Regions from separate parts of the Homo sapiens genome. Here regions 1, 3, 4, 5 and 6 are each linked to region 2. The links are contacts of gene promoters, found by promoter capture Hi-C in human tissues and cell types (Jung and others, 2019). All regions are on one chromosome and are shown on one strand. The core of a region is centred on a gene start or on the middle of the fragment in contact, and the rest is flanking DNA. Distances in the headings are between cores, read along the strand shown. Region 1 overlaps TFRC (transferrin receptor). Region 2 holds the start of WDR53 (WD repeat domain 53). Region 3 overlaps SENP5 (SUMO specific peptidase 5). Region 4 overlaps SLC51A (solute carrier family 51 member A). Region 5 overlaps SENP5 (SUMO specific peptidase 5). Region 6 overlaps DYNLT2B (dynein light chain Tctex-type 2B).

Evidence for each region. The method cuts DNA at HindIII sites, captures the fragments that hold promoters and counts their contacts. A contact is called where the count stands out against the background at its distance.
Region 1: a contact is called between a fragment that was not itself captured here and the fragment with the promoter of WDR53 in region 2, in 1 of the 25 tissues and cell types used here (lymphoblastoid cells).
Region 3: a contact is called between a fragment that was not itself captured here and the fragment with the promoter of WDR53 in region 2, in 1 of the 25 tissues and cell types used here (mesenchymal stem cells).
Region 4: a fragment that was not itself captured here is called in contact with the fragment with the promoter of WDR53 in region 2 in 1 of the 25 tissues and cell types used here (IMR-90 fibroblasts).
Region 5: a fragment that was not itself captured here is called in contact with the fragment with the promoter of WDR53 in region 2 in 1 of the 25 tissues and cell types used here (lymphoblastoid cells).
Region 6: a contact is called between a fragment that was not itself captured here and the fragment with the promoter of WDR53 in region 2, in 2 of the 25 tissues and cell types used here (lymphoblastoid cells and mesenchymal stem cells).

Annotation. Positions count from the first base shown.
Region 1 is chr3:196,065,802-196,069,273 of GRCh38, reverse strand. TFRC (transferrin receptor) reads left to right here. Exons shown (of 19, transcript NM_001128148.3): 8 at 1,144-1,242; 9 at 1,617-1,756. Among named protein-coding and RNA genes, the nearest start is that of TFRC, 15 kb to the left of the region's middle. The HindIII fragment of the contact is 3,924 bases long and covers 178-3,472 here.
Region 2 is chr3:196,566,857-196,570,160 of GRCh38, reverse strand. It overlaps WDR53 (WD repeat domain 53), which reads left to right and starts at 1,607. Exons shown (of 4, transcript NM_182627.3): 1 at 1,607-1,642; 2 at 2,854-3,284. FBXO45 (F-box protein 45) reads right to left here and starts at 1,501. Exons shown (of 3, transcript NM_001105573.2): 1 at 859-1,501. The coding sequence starts at 1,176. RefSeq lists enhancers at 1-248, 2,266-3,304 and silencers at 589-883, 1,005-1,544. The HindIII fragment of the contact is 3,803 bases long and covers 1-3,304 here.
Region 3 is chr3:196,908,180-196,911,573 of GRCh38, reverse strand. The region is part of intron 6 of SENP5 (SUMO specific peptidase 5); the gene reads right to left. Among named protein-coding and RNA genes, the nearest start is that of NCBP2-AS1, 30 kb to the left of the region's middle. The HindIII fragment of the contact is 7,535 bases long and covers 1-3,394 here.
Region 4 is chr3:196,230,700-196,234,012 of GRCh38, reverse strand. SLC51A (solute carrier family 51 member A) reads right to left here. Exons shown (of 9, transcript NM_152672.6): 8 at 1,489-1,594; 9 at 586-950. The coding sequence ends at 814. Among named protein-coding and RNA genes, the nearest start is that of SLC51A, 16 kb to the right of the region's middle. RefSeq lists enhancers at 982-1,271, 1,392-1,461. The HindIII fragment of the contact is 3,062 bases long and covers 1-2,781 here.
Region 5 is chr3:196,880,280-196,883,980 of GRCh38, reverse strand. All of the region lies in intron 1 of SENP5 (SUMO specific peptidase 5), which reads right to left. Among named protein-coding and RNA genes, the nearest start is that of SENP5, 14 kb to the right of the region's middle. The HindIII fragment of the contact is 5,535 bases long and covers 1-3,701 here.
Region 6 is chr3:196,304,346-196,307,695 of GRCh38, reverse strand. It overlaps DYNLT2B (dynein light chain Tctex-type 2B), which reads left to right. Exons shown (of 5, transcript NM_152773.5): 3 at 684-753. Among named protein-coding and RNA genes, the nearest start is that of DYNLT2B, 12 kb to the left of the region's middle. The HindIII fragment of the contact is 6,550 bases long and covers 1-3,350 here.

The DNA.
Region 1 (3,472 bases), core at 890-3,389, 500 kb after region 2:
GTGCTTAAGTGAAAGCTATTTCTCTGTATAACTCAGTTTTACGCATATACAGAATTCAGCTAAAAGCATGTTTTATAAAAAGGAAAATTAATAGCCAAACATACACAAGGAACTAGAGTGGAACATATCAAAAGACAGTGGTGATTTCTGCATTTTTAAAAAAAGTGGCAGGGCTCACACCTGTAATCCCAACACTTTAGGAGGCTGAGGTGGGAGGACTGCTTGAGCCCTGGAGGTTGTGAGATGTGACTCGTGCCACTCCAGCCTGAGTGACAGTGAGACTCAAAAAAGTGGTTGTCTTAGATGGGTTTTTGTTATTTTTCTTTTCTTTTTTTTTTTTTTTTTTGAGACGGAGTCTCTTGTCACCCTGGCTGGAGTGCAGTGGCGTGATCTCAGCTCACTGCAACCTCCGCCTCCCAGGTTCAAGTGATGCTCCTGCCTCAGCCTTCTGAGTAGCTGGGATTACAGGTGCCCACCACCACCATGCCTGGCTAATTTTTGCATTTTTAGTAGAGACAGGGTTTCACGACGTTGGCCTGGCTGGTCTTGAACTCCTGACGTCAGGTGATCCACCTGCCTTGGCCTCCCAGATTGCTGGGATTACAGGTGTGAGCCACCACTCCTGGCCTTTGTTATTCTTTTTTTTTTTTTTTTTTTTTTTTTGAGAGGGAGTTTTGCTCTTTTGTCCAGGCTGGAGTGCAGTGGCGCAATTTTGGCTCACTGCAACCTCTGCCTTATGGTTTCAAGCGATTCTCCTGCCTCAGCTTCCCAAATAGCTGGGAATACAGGCGCCAGCCACTGCGCCCAGTTAATTTTTGTATTTTTAGTAGAGACAGGGTTTCACCATGTTGGCCAGGCTGGTCTCGAACTCCTGAGCTTGTGATCCCCCTGCCTCAGCCTTGCAAGGTGTTGGGATTACAGGCGTGAGCCACCACTCCTGGCCCGTTACTCTTATTTTGCAAACAAGTGAGTTAATTTTTCAGGAAGCAATTAATAAATTACCAGATAAACAATTTGAAATATTTGGAAGTATTATAAGTTTAGTCCTCTGTAACCATTTGGCCTTTAGCATAATGTCCAGGATGTATTCTCATTTCGTATGATCAGATCTTCATTTTCTGAGCTTTATATGTTTTCTTTTAGGTTGCAAATGCTGAAAGCTTAAATGCAATTGGTGTGTTGATATACATGGACCAGACTAAATTTCCCATTGTTAACGCAGAACTTTCATTCTTTGGACATGTGAGTTATTTCTTGAGTAAATCACCGTTTTGAGTTCCTTGAGTTGTTCTTGGATTCCTGTATTAGCAGAAATAGCACTGTGTCTTCCTTAACTGCTCTTTTTTCTGGGAGGGCGTTAGCAGTAAGCAAGAAGATAGATTACATTGACTTTGAGGCTTTATTATTTGTTGCTAAAAGTACTTTGTCAATAGTGCCTTGAATTTGAGAATTTCCATATGCCATGAAAACAGGAGTCACATTGTAGAGCCACTCAGATTTTTGAGGCTTCAAGTTGGTAAACTAAGGTTGGGCTGCAGCCTTATACCAAACCTGAATCTTACAGAGAAGTTTTGAGGAAGTATGTGATGGAGTGAATTGCTCTTTTGTTTTCCTAGGCTCATCTGGGGACAGGTGACCCTTACACACCTGGATTCCCTTCCTTCAATCACACTCAGTTTCCACCATCTCGGTCATCAGGATTGCCTAATATACCTGTCCAGACAATCTCCAGAGCTGCTGCAGAAAAGCTGTTTGGGTAAGTTTTTATTTGAAAGCGGTCTTGCATAGTGAGGTTTTATGATTAGGGAAGAACGGTAATATGTTGATTAAAATGTTAAACATGATGATAATTTTCCACATTTGGGAATTTGGAGGATGGTTAGCTGTTACCTTGGTACAGATATAAATGAATTTTTCTCTATAAAGAGATCTTAATAATGGACTTTGGACTTATAAACACAGGAGAATAAGGAGACTTATAAACCCAGTGAATTCCTTGTGCAAGATTCCTGGCATAGCTTCTGCTCAAGTACTTCTGTGCTGAAGCACGATGCCTATAGCAGCCCATTCAGTTAGTAGAGAGAATCTGTTAGAATTCATATTGGGATAAAATCCTATTCCCCGAAACATCCATTTGTCTGGATTTTTCTTCTAAGCAATACGGTATGATTCCAGTTACCTTGTCTATAGATTGAGAAGCCTTGCTTCTTATGATGGTTTCCAGAGAAACCATTTATGGTTGTGGCTCGCTCCTCTGGATATCCTCCCTGTAACGTTAGTGTCTCTCTTTAAAAACAGAGCCCAGTTCCATTAGAGTACGTAGCATTAATTTTGATTTGGATGTGGACATATTTATCATTTCCTGTTATTACAGGATGGAGATCTAGTTTCAGGCCTTTATGAAAGCATTTATCTCCTGTATGACATAGGTTCTCTGATCCTGTTTCTTTAACATAATTGGATAGTGAAAATATATTCTACTTGATAGTCTCAAATGAAGAACATCTGTATATAAGGAGTATATGAAATACCATGACTGTTGATCATGCTGAGAGGCCTTTAGCATAGGGGAGTGTGTAACATACCATGACTATTGATAACGCTAAGAGGCATTTAGCATAGGTGATTTTTTTGACTCATTCTACCTACCACCTACAAATCGTAACCAACCTGTGAAGCCAGCGTCCCATCTTATCCTTATGTAGTAGGGGAGTAATAATGTTTCAACCTATATTTATGTAAGTAAGCCCCCTTAGGAGCAGCTATTATTTGGGTAACACAGAGGAATTAGATAGGGGAAGCACAAGATTTTTTTTTTATTTTGACAGTCTCACTCTGTTGCCCAGGCAGGAGTGCAGTGGCATGATCCTGGCTCACTGCAACCTCCACCTCCTGGGTTCAAGGAATTCTGCCTCGGCCTTCCAAAGTGCTGGGATTACAGGCGTGAGCCACCGCACCCAGCTGAGGAATATTTTTTATAACTGAGCTAAGAATGTGTACTATCCTTGTTAGTGGTGACAGTTGGGAAACATAAAAGTGTATTAATATTCTTTTATATATTAGAAGAACTTCATTTTGAGTCCATCTTGGTATGTATTCCAAATATAAACTACGTAAGTATGTCTGGCAGAAAGGCGCATAGTTAGAGAAGTGTTTTAAAATATTGCTTAATTAATGGTTTCCAATTGGCTGCCTGCAGATCAAAGTAAGACGCAAATGGTTCACCACTAGAGAGTAAGTTTTTTTTTGTTTTTATTTTGTTTTGTTTTGTTTTGTTTTTTTTTGAGACAGGACTTGTGCTCTGTTGCCCAGGCTGGAGTGCAGTGGCGTGATCTCGGCTCACTGCAGCCTCCGCCTCCCAGGTTCAAGCGATTCTCCTCCTCATCCTCCTTAGTAGCTGGGATTACAGGCGCATGCCACCATGCCCAGTTAATTTTTGTATTTTTAGTAGAGTCGGGGTTTCACCATGTCG
Region 2 (3,304 bases), core at 358-2,857:
AATAGCTGTTAACCATTCAACTCAACTCAAGACCAAGACCCTTTGTTTATTCGGCCTGAGAGTCCTTTCAGCCGTACCACAACTTGTTCCTTGACATTTTTATTTTGTATATGAAGGCGGGCGGAATATGCAGGAAGGATGCAGCGAAACTGTAATCAGCACGTTAGATGACAAATAGAAAAAGAGAGACACCATCAATGTGGAACTATTAAAAAGTTAGCAAGGAAACAGCCAATAACAGCAGGACAAAGCAGTATGTTAGGTGGTGCCCGTGGACGTTCTATAAAAGCCTGTATCTTGTAAGTGAGCAGGATGACTAGAACTACACTCACTTGTAAGCCTCCAATATAGTGGAGGGAACTAAAGAGAACTTGGGGGAAAATAATGAAAACAAATGGTTAAAAATCAGAGCTTGGAAAAGATGAGATAAACGTGGAGTGAAAGCAAACTAGAAACTTAGAAACTTAGAAACTAAGCCCATGTTAAGGTGGCCGGGATTATTTAATATAATGAAGTCTATCTGGAGGCCGGGGAGAAAAGTAGGATGAGGGCATTAAAAGGTACAAGAGTGGTGGTCTGTCTTTAACGGGGAAAACTGTCAAAAGTTGAATGAGTGAGGCAAACTACCTAGTTGTTTGAAAAGTGGATCACGGAAGTGGGATGGGTTAAGGAGCAGAACTTCGATCCAAAGAAAAGAGAATCTTTATCTTGGGGGGAGGTGAGGAAGATACTGACTGGAGCCGTGGAAAGGCGGGCTGGTGAGGCGAAGCTTCTGACTCAGAAGCTCGGATGAGAAACACCGCGAACGACGCCGGGGAGCGGGACTGGGGGCAGCGGTGTGGCCCGGGGCTCTCTCACCTTGGCCTTGTAGCTGGGCAGGTTGCACAGGATGTCCGTGCGCAGAGCCTCTTCTGCCAGGCTGCGGGCGCACAGGCTCCGCCACACCTCGCTGTTCTCATCGCCGTGCAGGCAGCGGTACCAGTGCTTGCACACCAGGGCGCAGCTCCGCAGCTCGGACAGCTCCAGGTAAGAGAACACCAACTCCAGCACCCGGCTGGGCAGCCGGCCCCCGGCCCCCGCGGCCCCAGAGCCCGAGCCCGCGCCCGCGCCCGCGCCGCCGCCGCTACAGCCAGCGCCGCCCGAGGCTGCCCCAGCCCCCGGGGCCGGCGCCGCCATCGCCTCACCAGCCGGCCCTAGGGCCGCCGCTGCCGCCGCCGCTTCCCGCCGTCTCTGCTCGGAAGGCCAAGCCTCGCCCGGAGACCGGAGCGGCTCGCTCACCGCCCCTGTCAGTGCCAACCGCCGGCGCCTCCACCACTCCCGCCCCTGCCCGGGGGCGTCCGCCGCGCGCCCCGCCTCACTGAGGGCAGACGCACCGGCTGCAGGGGCGTCCTCCGCCCCTCCTCCGCGGCTCAGCGCGGGCGCCGAAACCGCCCGACTCGCCCGGCCTCTCCGCGGCGCGCCAGCGGCTCCGCCATGCGGGTTGAGGGCACGAAGCAAGGGCGCACGCCCAGCTCGTTCGCGGTTCCTCTCGGCCCCGGATGTGACTGTTTGGCTGCGCCGCCTCACGCCTGACGCTCGACGGGATTGGGCGCCGGCGGGTGAGGTTATCACTAGGCGCCGAGGAGGGGAGCGGGAAGCGCAGGTATGAGGCTGGCGCCGGTGGCTTCGATGCTGCTTTCCGGTGACTTCGATGCTGTTTTCCAGTGCTTTTTCCTTTTTCTGGTCTGGTGGCTCCGCGTCTGCTCTCCTGGGCTCCCTTTCCTGTGACGTTTCCCTGTGTCCGTTAGGTCCTTGCTTCAGACTCCAGCTCAACGCATGAAACTTTTCTCTCCTTGCTTGCCGGGTCCTGGCTCCCCAACCTTTTTGTGTAGCTTGGGCAGCGGAGGCCGTCTTTACCTGGTCAGGCCCTCTCGTTCTCCCTAAGTATCGGCACTTAGCGAACGTCTGTCCCTGTGTGCCTTCGCAAAGTAAGGTGGCTGCGACTGAACACCCCCTCGCCCAAACGTTCGAGTGCCATTTGAGCGCTAATTAAGTGCTGCCGTCTTTTGGACAAGATGTGGTCTTTACTGGATCCACCGCTTAGTAAGCAGATGAAGGCAATGTAGTTTTAGTCAATTAAACATTCCAATAGGGAGAATGACGTGGAGGCTATAATTATAGATGGATTCTTGGAAGGGGAAGAATTTCAGCATCCCAGCTTGGGCAACATTGCGAGGCAGTGTCGCTACAAAAAAATAGAAAAATTAGCCGAGGGTGGTGGCGTGCGCCTCTGGTCCCAGCTACTTGGGAGGCTGAGCCCGGGAGGTCGAGGCTGAGGTGAACCGTAATCGCCCTGCTGTGCTCCAGCCTGGGCGACAGAGTGAGCCCCTACCTCACACACACACACACACACACACACACACACACACAAGAATTTCAGCATTATTTGATTATACTACGATTTCCTAGGTGGCCCCAAAGTTTTCCGACAGCCTTTAAAGCATGCTTAGTAAGAGAATAATAATAACCATCATTTGAGCCACGGTGTGAACCAGGCACTGTATACTACGTCATTTACGCAGATTTTTATATACGTAATCCTCAAAACAACTCCATGAGCTGAGTAATTAAAATAATAGGGTTCACAGACTCCCTTGGTCAACTCCAATGTCTTGGAACCTTTATGTAGTAAGAAATCTTTTCTGAAGCTTCTTGCTATGTATAATCCATTTCTTAGTCTCTAGTAAAAGCAAAGGAACGGTGGCTACCTTCCCTACCCTCTGATTCATGGTGTTTGATTATTATTTGCCTGTCCCTTCTCCTCATGTCTTTTTCACCAAGTCCAGTAACCCTAATTCTTTTCATTCTTACCAGTGCCAGCGCCACAGCCCTTCAATCATTTTGGTTGCTATCCAGCTTCTCCACATCAAGTCCAACTTCAGAAACCCCAAGCCTGTAGAGAAAAGTTGACCTGTGCTGACTCTGGTGATGGTGACTGTCTCTCACTAATTTCTTTGAAGTCTTCAAGGATAAGCAGAGTTGATCCATCTGAGAAAGGGATCATGAACTAGACAGAATGAACAGCCTTAGAGGCACAGACTCTTGAACGGGACGGTGGTGGTATGACTAGTGCAGAGTGTTTAGAGATCACTCAGTTTTTAAAGACTGGCCTTTATCGTGTCTCAGTGCAGCCGAGGCAGAGCCTTTGAAGGATGCGATGTTGTCATTCTTACTAATCTAGTCCAGCCGCTGAGGTGACTTTCAACGGCAGACCGTCTCCTGAGCGCCCCAGGTAGAATTTCAAAGTAAGATTACCCTTCTCAAC
Region 3 (3,394 bases), core at 686-3,185, 340 kb before region 2:
CTTTTTTTTTTTTTTTTGAGACAAAGTCTCACTCTGTCGCCCAGGCTGGAGTGCAGTGGCGCAATCTTGGCTCACTGCAACTTCCACTTCCCAGGTCAAGCAATTCTCCTGTCTCAGCCTCTCGAGTAGCTGAGACTACAGACATAAATGTCTTCTTTTGCGAAGTGTCTGTTCATATCCTTTGCCCACTTTCTGATGGTTTATTTTTCTTGTAAATCTGCTTAAGTTCCTTGTAGATTCTGGATATTAGATCTTTGTCAGGTGGGTAGACTGCAAAAATTTTATCCAATTCTATAGGTTGCCTGTTCACTCTGATGATAGTTTCTTTTGCTGAGCAGAAACTCTTTAGTTTAATTAGAATCCATGTTGGCTTTTGCTGCAATTGCTTTTGGTGTTTTTGTCATGAAGTCTTTGCCCACGCCTATGTCCTGAATGGTACTGCCTAGGTTTTCTTCTAGGGTTTTTACGATTTTGTGTTTTACAATTAAGTCTTTAATTCATCTTGAGTTAATTTTTGTATAAGGTGTAAGGAAGGGGTCCAGTTTCAGTTTTCTGCATATGGCTAGCCAGTTTTCCCAGCATCATTTATTAAATAGGGAATCCTTTCCCCATTGCTTTTGTCGGGTTTGTCAATGATGAGATGGTTGTGTATGTGTGGTGTTATTTCTGAGGTCTCTGTTCTGTTCCATTGGTCTATATGCCTGTTTTGGTACCAATACCACGTTGTTTTGGCTACTGTAGCCTTGTAGTATAGTTTGAAGTTAGGTATGTGATGCCTACAGCTTTGTTCTTTTTGCTTAGGATTGTCTTGGCTATACAGGCTCTTTTTTGTTTCCATATGAATTTTAAAGTAGTTTTTTCTAATTCTGTGAAGAATGCCAATGGTAGTTTGATGGGAATAGCATTAAATCTATTAATTACTTTGGGCAGCCAGGAGTGGTGGCTCACATCTATAATCCCAGCACTCTGGAAGGCCGAGGCAGGCGGATCACGAGGTCAGGACATCGAGACCATCCTGGCTAACACGGCGAAACCCTGTGTCTACTAAAAATACAAAAAATTAGCTGGGCATGGTGGTGCATGCCTGTAGTCCCACCTACTCGGGAGGCTGAGGCAGGAGAATTGCTTGAACCCGGGAAGTGGAGGTTGCAGTGAGCCACGATCATGCCACTGCATTCCAGCCTGGGCAATGGAGCGAGACTCCATCTCAAAAAAAAAAAAAAAAAAAAAAAAAAAAAGATTACTTTGGGCAGTATGGCCATTTTCAAGATACTGGTTCTTCCTATCCACGAGGATGGAATATTTTTCCATTTGTTTGTGTCCTCTCTTACTTCCTTGAGCAGTGGTTTGTAGTTCTCCTTGAAGAGGTCCTTCACATCCCTTATAAACTGTATTCCTAGGTATTTTATTCTCTTTGTAGCAATTGTGAATGGGGGTTCATTCATGATTTGGCTCTCTGCTTGTCCATTGCTGGCGTATAGGAATGCTTGTGATTTCTGCACATTGATTTTGTATCCTGAGACTTTGCTAAAGTTTCTTATCAACGTAAGGGGTTTTGGGGCTGAGACGATGGCATTTTCTAAATATAGAATCATGCCATCTGCAAGAGACAATTTGACTTCCTCTCTTTCTATCTGAATACCCTGTATTTCTTTCTCTTGCCTGATTGCCCTGGCCAGAACTTCCAATATTATGTTGAATAGAAGTGATGGGAGAGGGCATCCTTGTCTTGTGCCAGTTTTCAAAGGGAATGTTTCCAGCTTTTGCCCACTGATATTGGCTATGGGTTTGTCATAAATAGCTCTTATTATTGAGATATGTTTGATGAATACCTAGTTTATTGAGAGTTTTTAAATGAAGGGATGCTGAATTTTATCGAAGGTCTTTTCTGCATCTACTGAAATAATCATGTGGTTTTCGTCACTGGTTCTGTTTATATGACGGATTATGTTTACTGATTTGCATATGTTGAATCAGCCTTGCATCCCAGGGATGAAGCCAACTTGATCATGGTGGATAAGCTTTTTGATGTGCTGCTGGATTTGGTTTGCCAGCATTTTATTGAGAATTTTTCGCACCGATGTTCATCAGGGATATTGGCCTGAAATTTTCTTTTTTTGTGTCTCTGCCAGGTTTTGGTATCAGGATGATGCCGGCCTCATAAAATGAGCTAGGGAGGAGTTCCTCCTTTTCAATTGTTATGAAATAGTTTCAGAAGGAATGGTATCAGCTCCTCTTTGTACCTCTGGTAGAATTTGGCTGTGAATCCATCTGGTCCTGGGCTTTTTGTGGTTGGTAGGCTATTAATTACTGCCTCAATTTCAGAATTTGTTATTGGTCTATTCAGACATTCCACTTCTTCCTGATTTAGTCTTGGGAAGGTGTATGTGTCCAGGAATTTATCCGTTTCTTCTAGATTTTCTAGTTTATTTGTGTAGAGGTCTTTATAGTATTCTCTGATAGTAATTTGTATATTTCTGTGGGGTCAATGGTGATATCCCCTTTATCATTTTTTATTGTGTCTATTTGATTCTTCTCTCTTTTCTTCTTTAGTTTAGCTAGAGGTATTTTTTGTTAATTTTTTCAAAAAATCCAGCTCCTGGATTCACTGATTTTTTGAAGGGTTTTTTTGTGTTTCTATCTCCTTCAGTTCTGCTCTGATCTTAGTTATTTCTTGTTTTCTGCTAGCTTTTGGATTTGTTTGCTCTTGCTTCTCTATTTCCTTGTTGTTGTTTTTGTTTGTTTGTTTTGAGACAGAGTTTCACTCTTCTTGCCCAGGCTGGAGTGCAATGGCGCAATCTCAGCTCACCACAACCTCCACCTCCCGGGTTCAAGTGATTCTCCTACCTCGGCCTCCCAAGTAGCTGGGATTACAGGCATGTGCCACCACACCCAGCCAATTTTGTATTTTTAGTAGAGATGGGGTTTCTCCATGTTGGTCAGGCTCATCTCAAACTCCTGACCTCAGGTGATCTACCCGCCTCAGCCTCCCAAAGTGCTGGGATTACAGGCATGAGTCACCACGCCCAGCCGCTTCTCTAGTTCTTTTAATTGTGATGTCAGGATGTTGATCTGAGATCTTTCCAGCTTTTCGATGTGGGCATTTAGTGCTATAAACTTCCCTCTTAACACTGCTTTAGCTGTGTCCCAGAGATTCTGGTACATTGTCTCTCTGTTCTCATTGGTTTCAAAGAACTTCTTGATTTCTGCCTTAATTTCTTTATTTACCCAGGAGTTATTCAGGAACAGGTTGTTTAACTTTCCTGTAGTTGCCTTTTTTATTTGTTTTAAATTGAGACAAGGTCTCAGTCTGTCACCCAGGCAGGAGTGCAGTGGCGTGATCAGGGTTCACTGCAGCCTCGACCTCCCAGGCTCAAGTGATCCTCCCACCGCA
Region 4 (3,313 bases), core at 1-2,500, 340 kb after region 2:
ATTTTATGGATTTGGGACTTTTACTTGGACTCTCGGTGCCTTTGCTTCCACGTGCTGACTCTCTCCTTAGAAATCAAGCTCCATGACCACAGTGTCAGGAGATTCCTTTTCTAGCTTGTCACTGAAGACTCAAAAGCCATTGTCCCACAAAGTGAGGCTGACCCAGACCACCAGGGCCCCGCGTGGTTGGTGCCGTAGTAGCACACCTGTCAGGGAAAGGTCACCTTCCATCTGTTCTCCAGGGCCCCTGGCTTCTTCAAGACTCTGGGCTGGTGCTATTTCACCTCACCAAGTTCTCCTTTTCTTATGCCAGACACAATACTATATACTCTTCTTTTCATCTGCTTTAGGAAAGCTCAGTAAGCTTTCTTTTTTTTCCAGAGGCAGGGTCTGGCTGTATCACCCAGGCTGGAGTGTATGGCACAACCATTGCTCACTGCAGCCTCAACCTCCTGGGCTCAAGTGATCCTCCCGCCTCAGGCTCCCAAAGTGCTGGGATAGCAGGCATGAGCTGTCGCACCTAGCCAGCAATATACAACCTTGAAGGGTTAATAGTGACATGGACAGAGGCAAGGTGCCCAGTTACACATTTTCAGACATCATCTTGTTTATTACAAAACTTAAAACACCTTCCAGGCAAGATCCAAAGCAATTTTATTCTAACATTGTTCACCTTCATCTGTAGAGTCAAATGTATCTGCCAGCTTGTGTTGACAAGGGGGAATGCTTCCCATTTGGTCAAGGTTGAGGGACAGTAAAGGAATCTTGTATTCTAATGAGTACAGCATCCTTTCATTGTCCAAGCCATCCACCTTAGGCTTTGAGGTTCAAGTCCAGGTCTGGAGAAGAGAAAGTTTCATACCCAACCTTGTGGTCTTTCCTTCGGTAGTACATTCGTGTCAGCACAGTCATTAGAAAAGTCTCCAGTATGAGGAGGTGGCAATTCATCACTGCAGTGTAGGGTGAAATACAGCGTAGGTTATGCTGAGTTACAGAGGTGGTATTTTACTAGCAGCCCGGGCACGGGAGTTGAGCAACACTTTCTCCAGTTTATCCCCAAATCAGGACTTAGGGATACGAAATTGTCATAAATAACACAGCGGGTTAATGGTAGAGCCAGAACCGGAAGTTGGCTGTCTACTTCTGTGCTCTGAGGCTGGCATACAGTCCATTTCTTATGTGTGTTCAATCAACATGGGCTTCTGTTTTTTAACCATTCCCATTCCTCTCCCAGGAGCTGAGGACTGAACCCATGGCTTCCTGGGTTGGCCCTCAGGGCTGGCCTCAAGCTGTGGGGTTTCACTTCTCTTCTGTGTGATCAGAGAGGTCATAGTTTCCTTAAAGCCTCTGTTGGGATTTCCCGAAGATCCCTTCTGAACACTCTGAGCAGAAGTCAGGCTGGCCTAATGTCTGTTCTGGGGCCCCTTCTTTCCTGACTCTCCCCGTCTCATCCATCCCACGATGGGACAGGAGGCTTAACGTGCTCACCTTGAGACCTGGTTTTAGAGGAATAGGGAGGCGAACAAGCAATCTGCCCACCGTTGGCCAAGACTGAGAAGATGGAGGGCTGTAGGGCAGTCAGGATGAGGAGAACCTGCGGAACATAAAAGAGAGGCAAGGGTGGACTGGGCCTGCCCTCACGGCACAGAACGCAGCCAGCCCACTGCCGGGCCTTGCCCTTCCGCTGGGCAGGTTCCACCCACCGTCAGATCTGTGCAGTCACAGAGGGTTGAGGCTCTCACTTCATTAAAAATCTGTGGGATTTTCATCTTTAGGCAAATGACATTCTTATTTTCTACCCAGTAGTTTATTAGAGTTTCTGACAAGATATAAGAACTGATTAAAGGGTTCATTTTTAATTCCCTTTCTCAGCCATGGCTACCAATGAGCACTCAATGGATAAAGAGATGGGTGATTAGAGAAGAGTCATTCCATCTAGCTCAAGTGCCTGAGGTCCCTGCTCCTAGAATAATGGACAATTAACCATTAAAATGCCCTTTGGAAGCTCTGCCATCCCAGAGACTGCAGGGAGAGGGCAATGGGGAATGTGTTTAATGGGTGCCTGGAGATGGACGGTGGTAATGGTAGTGCAACTATGGGAATGTACTTAATGCCACAGAACCTGACACTTCAAAATCATTAATGGCAAATTTTATCAATATTTCACCAAATAAAGAAGGCAAAAGGGGAGAAGAAGAAGATCACTGTCCAGAAGCCCTGGAAGCACCATTTATCTTAGTATTGCCCTCCCTGAGTACATTGTGTGGAAACCTCAGCTTCTTCAAGGCTGGCGTGGCTCACCCAGGCTCCCCCACATTAACCATGGGCAGGCTCGGCCATCACACGGCTTTTATCTTTCGGCCTGGTCTCAAGTACTTCTGGGACCCAGAACCTTTCTGCCCCTTCAGTCCCTGACTCATTCCGGGGACTTCTCTCTCTATTCCCATAGCCCCTTTCATTCTACCTCCTATGTGCCTGGAAGTTCACATTTGGGAGGCATGTACGTAGATCAAATGAGAATGTACGTGAACTCACTCTGTTAAACTGTAGGGCAGTCATTATGCCTTGGGAGTAGAAGACCAGCAAGGAGACAGGATGGAGAGAGAAGGAGAACAAGACTGGGTTAGAAGTCATTGCATTTGGTGGAAAAGTCATCTTTGAGGTTAGAGAAGGCAGCACGTAGAAGGTGGGCCAACATGCCTTTGAGAGAATTTTCAGAAGCGTTGTGAAGATGAAGGGCAGGGTAAGGAGAAGACAGATGTGTGGAGGAGTCAAGACATACCTGGGTATAAATTCTAGCCCCGTTCCTTATGTGCCTTTGAGCAAGAACATCTCTGGGTCTGTTTCTTCCTTTGTAAAATGGGAAAAATGACTCCTGGGGTTGTGAAAATTGAAGTGTAATGTGTGAAAGTGCCCGGCACATGGTGTAGGTAGGTCCTGTAGCTAATGCTAATGCTTCTGCTGGTGTTGATGGGTTATAGGATTTTAGGAAGTCATAGGTAGAAAAGGAAAGGAAGAAGCAAGGAGACAAATGTAAGGTTTGTTAACTAACACACGTGTTACAGGTTAAATTGTGTCCCCAAAAAGCTATGTTGAAGTCCTGCCCCCCGGTACTCGTGACCTTATTTAAGAACAGTTTGTTACAAATGTAATTAGTTAAGATGAGGTCATAATGGAATAGGGTGGGCCCTTAATCCAATTTGACTGGTGTCCTAAAAATAGATGAGATGGAGGGGCACAGTGGCTCACGCCTATAATCCCAATACTTTGGGAGGCTGAGGCGGGTGGATCACCTGAGGTCAGGAGTTTGAGA
Region 5 (3,701 bases), core at 1,094-3,593, 310 kb before region 2:
GTGGCCCATGCCTGTAATCCCAGCACTTTGGGAAGCCGAAGCAGATGGATTACCTGAGGTCAGGAGTTCGAGACCAGACTGGCCAACATGGTGAAACCCCGTCTCTACTAAAAATACAAAAATAATTAGCCAGGCATGATGATGAGTGCCTGTAATCTCAGCTACTTGGGAGGCTGAGGCAGAAGAATTGCTTGAACCTGGGAGGTGGAGGTTGCAGTGAGCCAAGATTGCGCCACTGCACTCCAGCCTGGGAGACAAGAGTGAAGCTCTGTCTCCAAAAAAAAAAGCAGCAGCTATAGGACCTCAGAAAGCAGAAAGGCTCAGAAGCAGAGGCAACATATACCTATGAAAGTCAGGAGTATGGGTGGTGTTGAAAAGGAAACGCTGGCTCAAAGTCTGAATAAGAAGCAGTGAAACTCCTAGATACCATCTCCTACCGTGGCAGATGATGAAAGTTTCACTTTCTGAGGAGGATGACCCAGGATAGTCCAGTATATCATGTACAGCTGAGCACAGGGGTATACCAGGAGGATAAATGAGTTTACACCGTGAATTCCCCTCCAGGCCCTTCCCCACTCAGCTTCCATAAGACTGGCAAGAAGCTCTATACCCACAAGAAGGCGACTAGTCCCTGGGGGAAAACAGATCATTCACGGAGAAAAAACCAACAGATAGTGATATTTGGGGATGTCACAACAAAATAAGTCTGAACAATGACTCAATAGGGTGGCCTAAAGTTTAAGAAGCAGTTAGACTCCAGATCCCTACTTAACTCCACATGGCAGGTAAGTGACCCTCCCCCACCCAAGATTGGAAGTTTATCCTTTAGATAAAATAGTGAAATGTAAAATGCAAAAAAGAGTAAAATGGAAAGTCTGCAGACACAGGGACTCCAGGCATAATTTGAAGATGGAATTATATACTGCATATGAGACTCCGAACACACTTTGCCACTCATCTCCCAGAATGCTAGCAGTCTGTCTCACCCATACAAGCAGACTGAAGATTCTTTTCTGGAGACTATAACTAGTCCACCAAAAAAAAAAAAAAAATCCATAAAGATACAGATATTACCCCACAAAATGGCCCACAGTGTACCCCAAAGTTGACACATTCCACCATGTGTTAAGAGTTCCCAAGCAGTTTCTTAGTGGTCATTATTAAAAACAACTAGACGGGCTGGGCATGGTGGCTCACGCCTGTAATCCCAATACTTCGGGAGGCCAAGGTGGGCAGAGCACTTGAGGTCAGGAGTTCGAGACCAGCCTGGCCAACATGGCAAAACCCCATCTCTATTAAAAATACAAAAATTAGCTGGGCATGGTGGTGCATGCCTGTAATCCCAGCTACTTGGGAGGCTGAGGCACAGGAATTGCCTGAACCTGGGAGGCAGAGGTTGTGGTGAACTGAGATCGCACCACTGCAGTCTAGCCTGGGCGACAGAGCAAGACTCTGTCTCAAAAAAATAAAATAAAAAATAAAGGATGACCAAGAATCACCAGATGTCTAGGGATAAAAACAGACCAAAACAAACAGATAAAAGCAAAAACTATATAAAGTCAACTTTTATAAACCAACAGGGAGGGGGAGAAAAGGGAGTTATTGCTTAATGGGTACAGAATTTCAGTTTGGGAAGATAAAAAGGTTCCTGGAGATGAATGGTGGTGATGGTTGCACAGCAATGCGAATGTACTTTAATGCCAATGAACTGTACACCTAAAAATGGTCAAAATAGTAAATTTTATGTTATGTATATTTTACCACAATTAAAAAAAAAGAGGGGGCTGAGTGTGGTGGCTCACACCTATAATCCCAGCACTTTGGGAGGCCAAGACAGGCGGATCACTTGAGGTCAGGAGTTCGAGACCAACCTGGCCAACAAGGTAAAACCCCAACCCTACTAAAAATACAAAAAAATTAGCCAGGTGTGGTGGCACGTGCTTGTAATCCCAGCTACTCGGGAGGCTGAGACACGAGAATTGCTTGAACCTGGGAGTTCTGAAGGCTGCAGTGAGCCAAAATTGAGCCACTGCACTCCAGCCTGGGTGACAGACCAAGACTGTCTCAAAAAAAAAAAAAAAAAACTAATACTATCTCAAAGAAGCAAAAGCAAATATTACATCCATTGAAAAAAAAGAACAGGGTGTTATTCTTTTTCTAAAGGAATGGCCAAAAACAAGAAAGGGGTCTTGAAAATTAAAAATAATAGCAGAAATTAAAAACTCAATTAAGCTTGGAAGTTAAAAAAAATAATAAATGAACAAAATGAAAAGACAGCTGATAAATTAGAAAAAAATATTTGCAACATGTATCATAAAGGCCTAATATCCCTAATATATAGACCTCTTAAATTAAGAGATAACTGAAAAAAAGCCTAATGGAAAATAGGAAAAATACATAAGGAGACAATTTACAAATAAAGCTTTTTAAATGTTCCTTAAGCTTAAGAAAGATGTCCAAATTCATTTATAAGACAATTGGCAAAAATTATAACACATTCTCTTGGTGGGGAAGAAGGGCCTTTCCACACTTTGTTAGGAGGACTACAAATTGATCCAATCTTTTTGGAGGGTAATCTGGTAACATTTAATAACTACAAAAGTATTTACCTTTTAATCCAGCAACCCCACTTTAAGGAATTTACCTGAAGACATGCCTACAATAATACAAATATACACATGTACAAGGCTATTCATTGCAGCATTGTTTATAATAGCAAAATATTAAAAACAACCAGCAGGGAACTGTGGCTCAGCCTACAATCTCACACTTTGGGAGGCTGAGATGGGTGGACTGTTTGAGCCCAGGAGTTTGAGACCACTCTGGGCAACATGATGAAACCCCATCTCTACAAAGAAATATAAAAATTAGCCAAGTGTGGTGGCATGTGCCTGTGGTCCCAGCTACTCAGAAGGCTGAGGTGGGTGGATCAACTGAGCCCAGGAGTTTGTGGTTGCAGTGAGCTGAGATTGCACCATGGCACTCTAGCCTGGGCAACAGAGTGATGTCCTATCTCAAAAAAAAAATAAAAAAGGAAAAGGGCCAGGCGCGGTGGCTCATGCCTGTAATCCCAACACTTTGGGAGGCCGAGGTGGGCAGATCACCTGAGGTCGCGAGTTCGAGACCAGTCTGGCCAACACGGTGAAACCCTGTCTCTACTAAAAATACAAACATTAGCCGGGCACGGTGGCACATACCTGTAATCCAGCTACTCGGGAGACTGAGGCAGGAGAATTGCTTGAACCCAGGAGGCGCAGGTGACAGTGAGCCGAAATCACGCCATTGCACTCCAGCCTGGGGTACAAAAGCAAAACTCCGTCTCAAAAAAAAAAAAAAAAAAAAGAATAACTGGCTAATACTCTTCAATCACATCAGTCAAAGTCCTGAAAGACAAAGACAGACTGTCCTAGAATGAAAGACTGAGATTAAGGAGACGACAATTAAACAAGGTATAATCCTGGATTGAGTCTCAGTTCAGAAAAAGAAAAGTCATGTGACAACTGACAAAATTGGAATAAGGTGTGCAGATCAGTTAGCAGTATTCTCTCAACGTTAATTGCCTGGCCTTGACAATGTGCTGCAGTTCTATAACATTGGAGAGGCCAGGTACAGTGGTGCACACCTGTAGACCCACCTACGTGGGAGGCGGAGACAGAAGGATTGTTTGAGCCCAAGAGTTCAAGATCAGCCTGGGCAACATA
Region 6 (3,350 bases), core at 128-2,627, 260 kb after region 2:
ACTTATAGTAGGGGAAAAAGGAAGGAAGCTAAGGTTTATTGAAGGACTAGTATTTAACAGCACTGTTTAGATGCTTTAGATATTACTATATCTGACCGGGCGCGGTGGCTCACGCCTGTAATCCCAGCACTTTGGGAGGCCAAGGTGAGTGGATCACCTGAGGTCAGGAGTTCGAGACCAGCCTGGGCAACATGGTGAAACACCTTTTCTACTAAAAATACAAAAATTAGCCAGGTGTGGTGATGCATACCTGTAGTCCCAGCTACTGAGGAGGCTGAGGTAGGAGAATCACTTGAACCCTGGAGGCAGAGGTTGCCGGTGAGCTGAGATCGTGCCACTGTACTCCAGCCTGGGCAACAGAGTGAGAATCCATCTCAAAAACAAAACAAAAAAAAGATACTACTATATCTTACCTAACCTTATAACAATCTTGGGAGGTAGGTACTGATATTCCTGTTTAATAAGGGAGACTTAAACTGAAAAGTTAAATTACTTTCTGAGGTTATACACTTGCTGAGTTATAGTTAGGATCTGCCTTCACGTCCTCCTGACCCCCAAGCTTACCACCATATTCATTAAGTACTTGTGGATTGAATGTTTATGTCCATTTCTGGGCAAATTTGTCTTCAATAAGTAATTTTACTACATATTTGCTTATAAATAACCTTATTTTTTCTTTCTAGAAATGGGATTTGACCGATACAAAATGGTGGTGCAAGTAGTGATTGGAGAACAAAGAGGTGAAGGAGTATTGTGAGTAGCTGGATTTTCCTTCTTGTTTTAGTCATCTATATTTCTTATGAGGTATCTGTCCTTTGGACAATTCAGTAAGAGTGCCTTTACAAGAGTGAGAAGGGCCGGGTGTGATGGGTCACACCTGTAATCTCAGCACTTTGGGAGGCTGAGGCGGGTGGATCACCTGAGGTCAGGAGTTCAAGACCAGCCTGGCCAACATGGCGAAACCCCGTCTCTACTAAAAATTAGCCGGGTGTGATGGCGTGCGCTTGTAGTCCCAGCTACTCAGGAGGCTGAGGCAGGAGAATCACTTCAACGCAGGAGGTGGAGGTTGCAGTGAGCCAAGATCGTGTCATTGCACTCCAGCCTGGGTGACAGAGTAAGACTCTGTCTCAAAAATAAATAAATAAAATATCTTTATTATCTCTAAAATATTGTCAGTCCTTAATATCATAAAATATGCTGTTATTATTCAGATATGCCTCATATATGTATGTATGTGTTTTCTTTCTTTTCTTTTTTTTTTGTTTAAAGAGACAGGGTCTCATTTTGTCACCCAGGTTGGTGTGCAATGGCACTATCACAACTCACTGCAGCCTTGGCCTCCTGGGCTCAAGTGATCCTCCTGCCTCAGCCTCCTGAGTAGCTGGGACTGCAGGTGTGCACCACCACACCTGGCTAATTTTCTTTCTTTCTTTTTTTTTTTTTTTTTTGCAGAGATGGGTCACACTCTGTTGGCCAGTCTGGTCTTAAACTCCTGGGCTCAGGCAATTCACCAGCCTTGGCCTCCTAAAGTGGTGGACTTATAGGCTTGAACCACCATGCCAGACCTATTATTTTCTTTTTACAATTTTTTCAAATTAAGATTCAAACAAGGTCCACACATTGCATTTGGTTAATATGTAAATTAGGATTTTTTTTTAAGACGTAAGATCTTGCTATCTTGCCCAGGCTGGAGTGCAGTGGCTATTCACAGATGTGATCATAACACACTACAGACTAGAACTCCTGGGCTCAAGTGATCCTCCCACCTCAGCCTGCCAGGTAGCTGGGACTATAGGTGCACACCACAGCATCTGGCTTTAAATTTACTTCAATGTGTTGTTTTTGCTGCCTCATTTCTCTCTTTCTTCTTTTAATCCTGCCATTTGATTTTATTTTTATGACAGTCTTGCTTCCTCACCCAGGCTGGAGTGCAGTGGCATGATCTCGGCTCACTGCAACCTCTGCCTGCCGGGTTCAAGTGATTCTCCTGCCTCAGCCTCCTGAGTAGCTGGGATTACAGGCGCTCACCACCACGCCCAGGTAATTTTTGTATTTTTAGTAGAGATGGGGTTTCACCATGTTGGCCAGGTTGGTCTCCAACTCCTGACCTCAGGTGATCCACCCACCTTGGCCTCCCAAAGTGCTGGGATTGCAGGCGTGAGCCACTGTGCCCTGTCAGTTATTTATTTATTTATTTTTTCCTGCCATTTATTTGTTGAAGAAATTGGTTTGTTTGTCCTGTAGAGTTTCCTATATTCTGGCAGTTGCTGATTATATACCTATGGTATTGTTTAATATGTCTTCTATTTCCTGTACTTCTTGAAAATAAGTAGTTAGATCTAGTCTTAATTAGCCATAGGTTTGAGGTTGGGGAAATACTGTTTTCTATACATCCTATTGCATCTTCTCAGAAGGTACAAAATAGCTGGTCATCTCTTTTTGCTTTGTTAAGGTTGATCATGGAGTTCAGATATTGTCAGATGGATCCATCTATTATAAAGTTTCCCATCAGGGCCGGGCGTGGTGGCTCACACCTGTAATCCCAGCACTTTGGGAAGCTGAGGCAGGAGGATCACTTGAGCCCAGGAGTTCCAGACCAGCCTGGGCAACACAGCAAAACTCTGTCTCTACAAAAAAATACAAAAATTAGCCGGGCATGGTGGCACACGCCTGTGGTCCCAGCTACTTGAGAGACTGAGGTGGGAGGACCTCTTGAGCCCAGGAAGGTTGAGACTGCAGTAAGCCGTGATTGTGCCACTGTACTCCAGCCTGGGTGACAGAGTGAGACCCTGCCTCAGATAGGTAGGTAGGTAGGTAGGTAGATAAGTGCTTACCTTGTCTTCTAGTTTCCATTGTTTCTGTTGAGAAGTCAGCTGTAAGTTTTATTATTCAATTTAAGATGGTATGTCCTCTCTAGCCACTATTACTTTCTTTGTATTTATTCTGCTTAGAGCACTCAGAGTCTCTTGAATCTATGGATTGATTTTTTTGTTGTTTTTTTTTTGAGATGGAGTTTCGCTTTTGTCTCCCAGGCTGTAGTGCAATGGTGCGATCTTGGCTCACTGCAAGCTCTGCCTCCCAGGTTCAAGAGATTCTCCTGCCTCAGCCTCCCGAGTAGCTGGGAGTATAGGTGCCAACACCATGCTCGGCCTTCTAAAGTCCTGGGATTACCAGTGTGAGCCACTGCACCCAGCCAGGTTGATTTTTTTTATCAGTTTGGGAAAATTCTTAGCCATTACCTTTGTTTAAAAAAAACAGTTTTTGGCCAGGTGCAGTGGCTCCCACCTGTAATCTCAGCCCTTTGGGGGACCGAGGTGGGTGGATCACTTGAGGTCAGGAGTTCGAGACCA